Regions from separate parts of the Homo sapiens genome. Here region 1 is linked to region 2. The links are contacts of gene promoters, found by promoter capture Hi-C in human tissues and cell types (Jung and others, 2019). All regions are on one chromosome and are shown on one strand. The core of a region is centred on a gene start or on the middle of the fragment in contact, and the rest is flanking DNA. Distances in the headings are between cores, read along the strand shown. Region 1 has its middle 57 kb from the start of BTLA. Region 2 holds the start of BTLA (B and T lymphocyte associated).

Region 1 (3,702 bases), core at 807-3,306, 57 kb after region 2:
CAGAAGGACCCCGTGAGGGTCAAATAAGATAATTATGAGAAAATCTCTTGTAAACTGCAAAATTCTATGCACATATACATGATTATAAGAAATCATTTTGGACAGATATACAATGGGAGAAACACATAATCTCTGATTATTAATGTGCCTGAAAATGAAAATGAATTTTCACTCCACTCCATTCAACATTGAATATTACGTGAAAAATAATTATAATTCTCTACTCCTTTCTCACCAAAGGGGAAGAGAAGTGATACAACTGCCCAGTGAAGTTGTGACATGGAATCAAACTTCTGGGTTTGCTCTCACTTTGGATCTGTGACAGGATCATTCTGGTCTGCTCTCCTATTCCTGGTGGTAGTGGAGCAGACCTTGCCCCCTTCTCTCTCTCTGTGTGCACATGTCTGTGAGACAATATAGGAGGATCTCAGTTTAATTCTACATAAAGTATTAGAAAATTCATTGTGGCTCTGTATTTAAGCTACATGCTCCAATCTAGCTTTTGATTGTAATAAATTAACCTTTTGATTTTTTTTTTTTTTTTTTTTTTTTTGAGACAGAGTCTCGCTCTGTCGCCCAGGCTGGAGTGCAGTGGCGCGATCTCGGCTCACTGCCAGCTCCGCCTCCCGGGTTCAGGCCATTCTCCTGCCTCAGCCTCCCAAGTAGCTGGGACTACAGGTGCCCGCCACCACGCCCGGCTAATTTTTTGTATTTTTAGTAGAGACAGGGTTTCACGGTGTTAGCCAGGATGGTCGCTATCTCCTGGCCTCGTGATCTGCCCGCCTCCGCCTCCCAAAGTGCTGGGATTACAGGCGTGAGCCACCGCGCCCGGCTGACCTTTTGATTTTTATCAGTCGAGCTATGAGTCTAATTCTAACTGCCCAACTTAAAAGGGAAAAGAAGAGGGTTATCTATCTATCCCAGACCTCAATACTATTAAAAACATCTCTATTGGCGATTCTAAAAGCCTCAGCCAATAATTTGCTTTGAGTACAATCTGCTTTATGTCTCTACAGATTAGCCTATTCTGGACATTTCATATAAATGAAATCATACAAGATATGACCTTTTAGTCTAGCTTCTTTCACTTAACATAACGTTTTCAAGGTTTATCTGTGCTGTAGCACATATCAGTCTTCTTTCCTCTTAATGAATGAATAATATTCTATTGTATGGATCTACCATATTTTGTTCATTCATTAGTAGATGGACATTTGAATTGTTTCTACTTTTTGGCTATCTGAATATTGCTGCTTACAACATATATTGTCATTAACCTTAAACTATACTTGCATTATCACATATCTATCCATCCAACAGTCAATTTATTTTACTGATATATTTCAAGGTAATTTGTAAATATCAATTTATCCATCAAAAATATTCTTCCAGTTAAATAGTTTCACGTTGTCAACATTAACTAAATGTAACACTTTTTAGAGCTTTTAAATATAAAATTGCATGCAATAAAAGGTGCATTTGTTGAGTAGAAAAATGCATATACCTGGGTAAATGAATCTCATATTGAGATATGAACCACTACTCTCACTCCATAAATTTCCTTATGTCCCCTCCCAGCCAATATTCCATATCCCCAGAGACAACTGTAGTTTTTATTTTTTTCACCATAAATATGAACTAGTACATACCTGGGTCTTTAAAAAATGAGTTTCTGTCTTGAAGCTATATAACTCATTCATTTTTAATGTTTATTTCACTGAACTTATTTCTTATCTCATACTTCATATTTAGCATGTTTTGTTTTTTCCCTTTTTTTTGCCTTTTTTCTATTCCCCTCAACTTATATACATGTTTTGTATTCTCATTCTGTCCTATAAAATTAACTTTTTGGCCTATGTAATTAAATGTATATTTTTTCTAAAAATGTCTAATTAGTAGCTACATCCTCCAATTAAACAAAACAAGAAAATTGATGCATTTAAAAATGTATATTACGTGGGTATACTGCACCCATGTAACAAGCCTGCATATGTACCAACTATATCTAAAATATAGGAAGGATAGTACCCCACATGTAGTTTTTTAACACATGCCCCCCTCCCTCTCTCTGCCCTCTAGTAGTCCATCGTGTCTATTGTTCCCATGTTCATATCCCATGTATACTCAATGTTTAGCTCCCACTTATGAACATGCAGTCTTTGGTTTTCTGCTCCTGCATTAATTTGCTTTGAATTATGACCTCCAACTCTATCTATGTTGCCGCAAAGTACATGATTTCATTCTTTTTTATGGCTGTGTTCTGTGGTGTATATGAACCACGTTTTCTTTATCCAGTCCACCATTGATGGGGACCTAGGTTGACTGCAGGTATTTGCTATTGTGAATAGCATGATGACGAACATATAAGTACCTCTGTCTTTTTGGTATAATGATACATTTTCCTTTGGGTATATACCCAGTAATGGGATTGCTGGGTATAATGGTAGCTCTGTTTTAACTTCTTTGAGAAATCTCCAAATTGCTTTCCACAGTGTCTGAACTAATTTACATTCCCACCAATAGTCTATAAGCATTCCCTTTTCTCTGCAGCCCCACCAACATCTGTTGTTTTTTGACTTTAATAAAGCCATTCTGACTGGTGTGAGATGGTATCTCATGGTTTTAATTTTCACTTCTCTAATGATTGGTGCTGATGACAGTTTTTCATGTTTGTTGGCCACTTGTATGTCTTCCTTTGAGGAGTGTCTCTTCATGTCCTTTGCCAATTTTTTAATGAGGCTTATTTTTGCTTGTTGATTTGTTTAAGCTCCTTAGAAATTCTGGATATTAGACCTTTATCAGATGCATACTTTATGAATATTTTCTCCCACTTTGTAGGTTGTCTGTTTACTCTGTTGATAGCTTCTTTTGCTCTGCAGAAACTCTTTAATTAGGTTCCACTTGTCAATTTTTGGTTTTGTTGCAAATGCTTTCGAGGACTTAGTCAAAAATTATTTGCCCAGGCTGATATTGAGAAGAGTATTTCCTAGTATTTTTTTCTAGGATTTTTATAGATTAAGGTTTTATATTTCAACACTTAATGCATCTTGAGTTAATTTTGTATATGGTGAAAGGTAAGGGTCCAGTATTATTCTTCTGCATATAGCTAGCCAGTTAACACCATTTATTGAATAGGGAATCCTTTCCCCATTGCTTGTTTTTGTCTACCTTGTTGAAGATCAGACTGTTGTAGGTGTGCAGCTTTATTTCCGAGTTTTCTATTCTGTTCCACTGGTCTACGTGTCGGTTTTTGTACCACTACCATGGTGTTTTTGGTTGCTGTACTTTTGTAGTATAATTTGATGTTGTGATGCTTTCAGCTTTGCCCTTTTTGCTTAAGATTTCTTTGGCTATTCAGGCTCTTTATTGGTTTCCTATGAATTTTATAATAGGTTTTTCTAATTCTGTGAAGAATGACACTGGTTATTTGATAGAAATAGCATTGAATCTGTAAATGGCTTTGGGCAGAATGGCCATTTTAATAATATTGATTCTTCCAATCTAAGAGCATGGAAACTTTCCCCATGTGTTTTTTTCATCTCTAATTTCTTTCAGCAGTGTTTTATAGTTCTCCTTGTAAAAAATCTTTCAACTCCTTGATTAACTATATTCCTTGGTATTTCGTTTCCTTTGTGGCTTTTGTGAATGAGATTGCATTCTCAATTTGGCTCTCAGCCTGAATATTATTGGTGTATAGAAATG
Region 2 (3,945 bases), core at 314-2,813:
TGGACTTTTTATATGAAAAATATTTAAAATAGTGACATAACAGTTTTAAGCTGAGATAAAGTTAATATGATCTCTCTCTGGTTTGGGCTTATGTAACCCATAAGCCATAAGGTTATGGCTTTTGACCTGTGGGCCATTTTAAAGGGACAATGAGCCTTGCTTCAGCTGCCTCAAGAAGCTTTTACTCACTGTGAACACAGGAAAAGGAAGGAGCTGTGAAAATACTGCCTTAATATTTCCCAGGATGTTTATTTGATTAGTAACAGAAATTCTAAAAGGCTATGTGTACCCTCTCTGTATTATACTATATTATAAGACCAACACTAAAGGTGGATGTGAGGAAGTCGTAATACTGATTGAACGAGTTCTTTAAAATCAGCAATAGCAACTCATTCATCATTCATCTCCAACCATAGCACATTGTCTATTTGACTCAATAAATACATGATAACTGTTTTTTAATTTTAATTTACCCTTGGCAACTCAACTGGGAGCTCTGAATTAAGTATTGCCCATCAGTTTCCCATGTCAGGTCAAAATGTCCAGCAATCTATACACTTTCCTTGCTCTTAAAACTTTCCTTGAACTTAAAACTATTGAAGTTTGGCCTTGGAATAAAATCATCAGTCTCTGAGGAAAAAACTTATATAATCGACTTCTGTCAATGATCACTAATGCCACAAATCTAGATCTCTCATTTGGAGTCTCAAATGGCAGATGAATTTGATTAGCTCCTATGACTATAAGCTAAGCTAATTATTACAAGTGGATGTGGAGAAAACAGTCCTATGGTGGCCTGTGCTATCTGATCTTGAACTTTTCCATTTCTTCCTTTACTGTTTCTATTCTACTTCATCGAGACAACAACTGCATGAAGAATGTTTAAAATGGAAATTTCCTTTAATTGATATTCAAGATCTCCTTTAGATTAGAACTTTATTATCTAGAGAGAACATGTAGCCAATATTAATGATGATCTTGTTCCATTGATATGTATCCACAGATTAAAGACGGCTGCTCTTCCTTCTTCTGTTGAGGAAGTGCTTCCTGTCACTCATTTTCTCCATAACCTGAGATAAATCTTCACTGGTTTAATGACAATAAGCATCCTCATCTTACCGTGACATGTACAGGAAAAAAAAGAAACCTAAAATCTTTTACATAAAAGAAGTTTCATAATCACAAGCTATCACAAAGGGGAAAATGTATACTTACCATTGATAGTTTTACCATAAATTTCCTGACCTTAATTTGATTAAAATCTCAACTTAAAGACTGCAACAATACAGATTTCTTTAAAGTTTAATTGCTCATTTCACTGAACATTGAGTGCAGGAAAAACCTCAACCTGGGGCAAAAACGTGGTAGAGCGGAAGGAGAAGTTAAGGACTGAGCTGCTTTGCAGATCACAGTGTTTGAAAGTGAACAGCCAACCTGACAAGAAGCAAAAACCACAGAACAGAGTACCACATCGTCTTTCTGTTCACTTTTTTTCACAAAATCATCCAGGCTCTTCCTACTCTCCTCTCTTACCACCTCTCTCTTCTTTTTTTTTTTTTTTTAGTTATTTCACAGATGCCACTGGGGTAGGTAAACTGACCCAACTCTGCAGCACTCAGAAGACGAAGCAAAGCCTTCTACTTGAGCAGTTTTTCCATCACTGATATGTGCAGGAAATGAAGACATTGCCTGCCATGCTTGGAACTGGGAAATTATTTTGGGTCTTCTTCTTAATCCCATATCTGGACATCTGGAACATCCATGGTAAGGCACCTGCTTAGGTTATTTCTGGTTTTATTTCTCAGGGGGTCTTGGAGGCAACATTCTCCCTTGCTGAACTTAGTACGGTGTAACGTTTATACGAAGTGGGTAATCGTAGATGAAACCAAGCTGTTACATTTGCTTACCGAAGACATCGTAGAGCATAAACCAAATTAGAACATAGTATTCACCTGCCTAATCATAGGCATCGCATCAATAGCTTGGCTGACTTTCTTAAAAACATGTTGATGGTAGGAAAAGAGAACTGAGTAGATGTTATAAATAGTTAAGTACAAATCTATCACTACTTCTTGCAAAAATGCTCTGGCTGCCATACTGATAATGAATAGATAGCTCGTTCTTTCCAAACTGAGTGCAGTAGAGTGCTGCAGTGCTCAGTTGGGTAGGACAGTTGTTGGATAATCGGAATTATACATATCTCCATGGTTACCCTCAAATAATATTACCTCTAAATAAAATCTCTATACTTGCTTCATTGGGATGTATGCCTTGAGAATACCGATTGAGAAAATGCTACAAAATATAGGAGCAGAACTTTTCGTCATTGCTTCTATTTTGTTGAAAGGGAATGGTTCCTACTTGGTTGTCAATTGAACACAGAAAATAAGTTGGATTCTGCAAAGATGATATTTAGCCACCCCTGCAAAGACTTTATACAGGCAAAAAAAAAAAAAAAAAAAAAAAGGCAATTTCTTTTTTATTGTAAAGTCGCTTCCTACCTTATATTGCATAGGAACCCACATATTATCAAGAGGAAAAGCCTATGAGTGGCTCATCAGAAGCTTCTGATTTTTCAGGTTTTATTTTTTTATTTTTTTGAGACAAGAGTTTTGCTCTCGTCACCCAGGCTGGAGTGCAATGGCGTGATCCCGCCTCACTGCATCCTCTGCCTCCCGGGTTCAATCGATTCTTCTTCCTCCCGGGTTCAATTTATTCTCCTGCCTCAGCGTCCCTAGTAGCTGGGATTACAGGCACCTTCCACCACGCACAGCTAATTTTTGTATTTTTAGTAGAGATGTTGGATAACCCCAATTATCCAACATCTGTCCTACCCAACTGAGCACTGCAACACTCTACTGCACTCAGTTTGGGAAGAACGAGCTATCTATTCATCATCAGTGTGGCAGCCTGAGCATTTTCGCAAGAAGTAGTGATAGATTTGTACTTAACTATTTATAACATCTACTCAGTTCTCTTTTCTTGCCATCAACCTGTTTTTTAAGAAAGTCAGCCAAGCTATGGATGCAATGCATGTTGGGCAGGCTGGTCTGGAGCTCCTGACCTCAAGTGATCCACCTGCCTCAGCCTCCCAAAGTGCTAGGATTACAGGTATGAGCCACCATGCCCAGTGATTTTTCAGGTTTTAAATATTCTGTCTTATTATTCCCTACAAGCACACATTTATCAGTTTGGCTACTGCAATTTTAAATTAGAAAATCTGGCCACTGAGGTTCTATGGAAAGTCTATCTATAATTTTAAACTGTGTAGTTTGGAATATGTCTCTATGATGCCAGGATGCCACACAACCAAGTGCAAAGTAAAAAAGTCCTTAGTTACTCAAACATCTTTATGTTTGTAAGTATCTAGTATTAAGTCAACTAGGTGCTTAGATGGTTGACTGAATTTTCCACCTTCCATCAGATGCCTACAGTCACATAGCTACAACTGGAGTCAAATATTATTAAATAGATTTCTTCCCCATTTGAAGGATACATAAACTACTCTCTATGAAATTAAGAACAATGAGTTTCAGTGCTAAACCACATTGATGGTGGGGTAAGACCTTTATTTCTCCCAATGTGCAACCTAGCATTTGCAAAAGTGAACTTGGCTGTTAGAACTGGGTTAATTTACTGGCTCTGCCACTTACTGTATGGCATTGATTAAGTCTCTTCTCTTCTCTTTAGTTTCCTCATTTGTACAATACAGGTAATAATTGTACCTAAATTATGGGGCTGCTGTGAAGACTGTAGATGCAATAATATGGGTAAAGTGCCTCGCATAGTAAGTGCACGTATTTAAAGCTCAGTAAATGTTAGTGGTATTTTTCCTAAATTATTTTCACCATGCAACCTCTATGTAATTAAATGAGAATTATGTTTTAACATTATTATTTAAAATAGTTGAGTTTTTAAAGTTAAAAATAAAATAAATAAGTACAA

What was found. The method cuts DNA at HindIII sites, captures the fragments that hold promoters and counts their contacts. A contact is called where the count stands out against the background at its distance.
Region 1: a fragment that was not itself captured here is called in contact with the fragment with the promoter of BTLA in region 2 in 1 of the 25 tissues and cell types used here (H1 embryonic stem cells).

The regions. Positions count from the first base shown.
Region 1 is chr3:112,440,906-112,444,607 of GRCh38, reverse strand. No RefSeq gene overlaps it. Among named protein-coding and RNA genes, the nearest start is that of BTLA, 57 kb to the left of the region's middle. The HindIII fragment of the contact is 7,891 bases long and covers 1-3,702 here.
Region 2 is chr3:112,497,090-112,501,034 of GRCh38, reverse strand. BTLA (B and T lymphocyte associated) reads left to right here and starts at 1,563. Exons shown (of 5, transcript NM_181780.4): 1 at 1,563-1,764. The coding sequence starts at 1,677. RefSeq lists enhancers at 1,842-1,971, 2,062-2,111, 2,980-3,099. The HindIII fragment of the contact is 5,711 bases long and covers 1-3,945 here.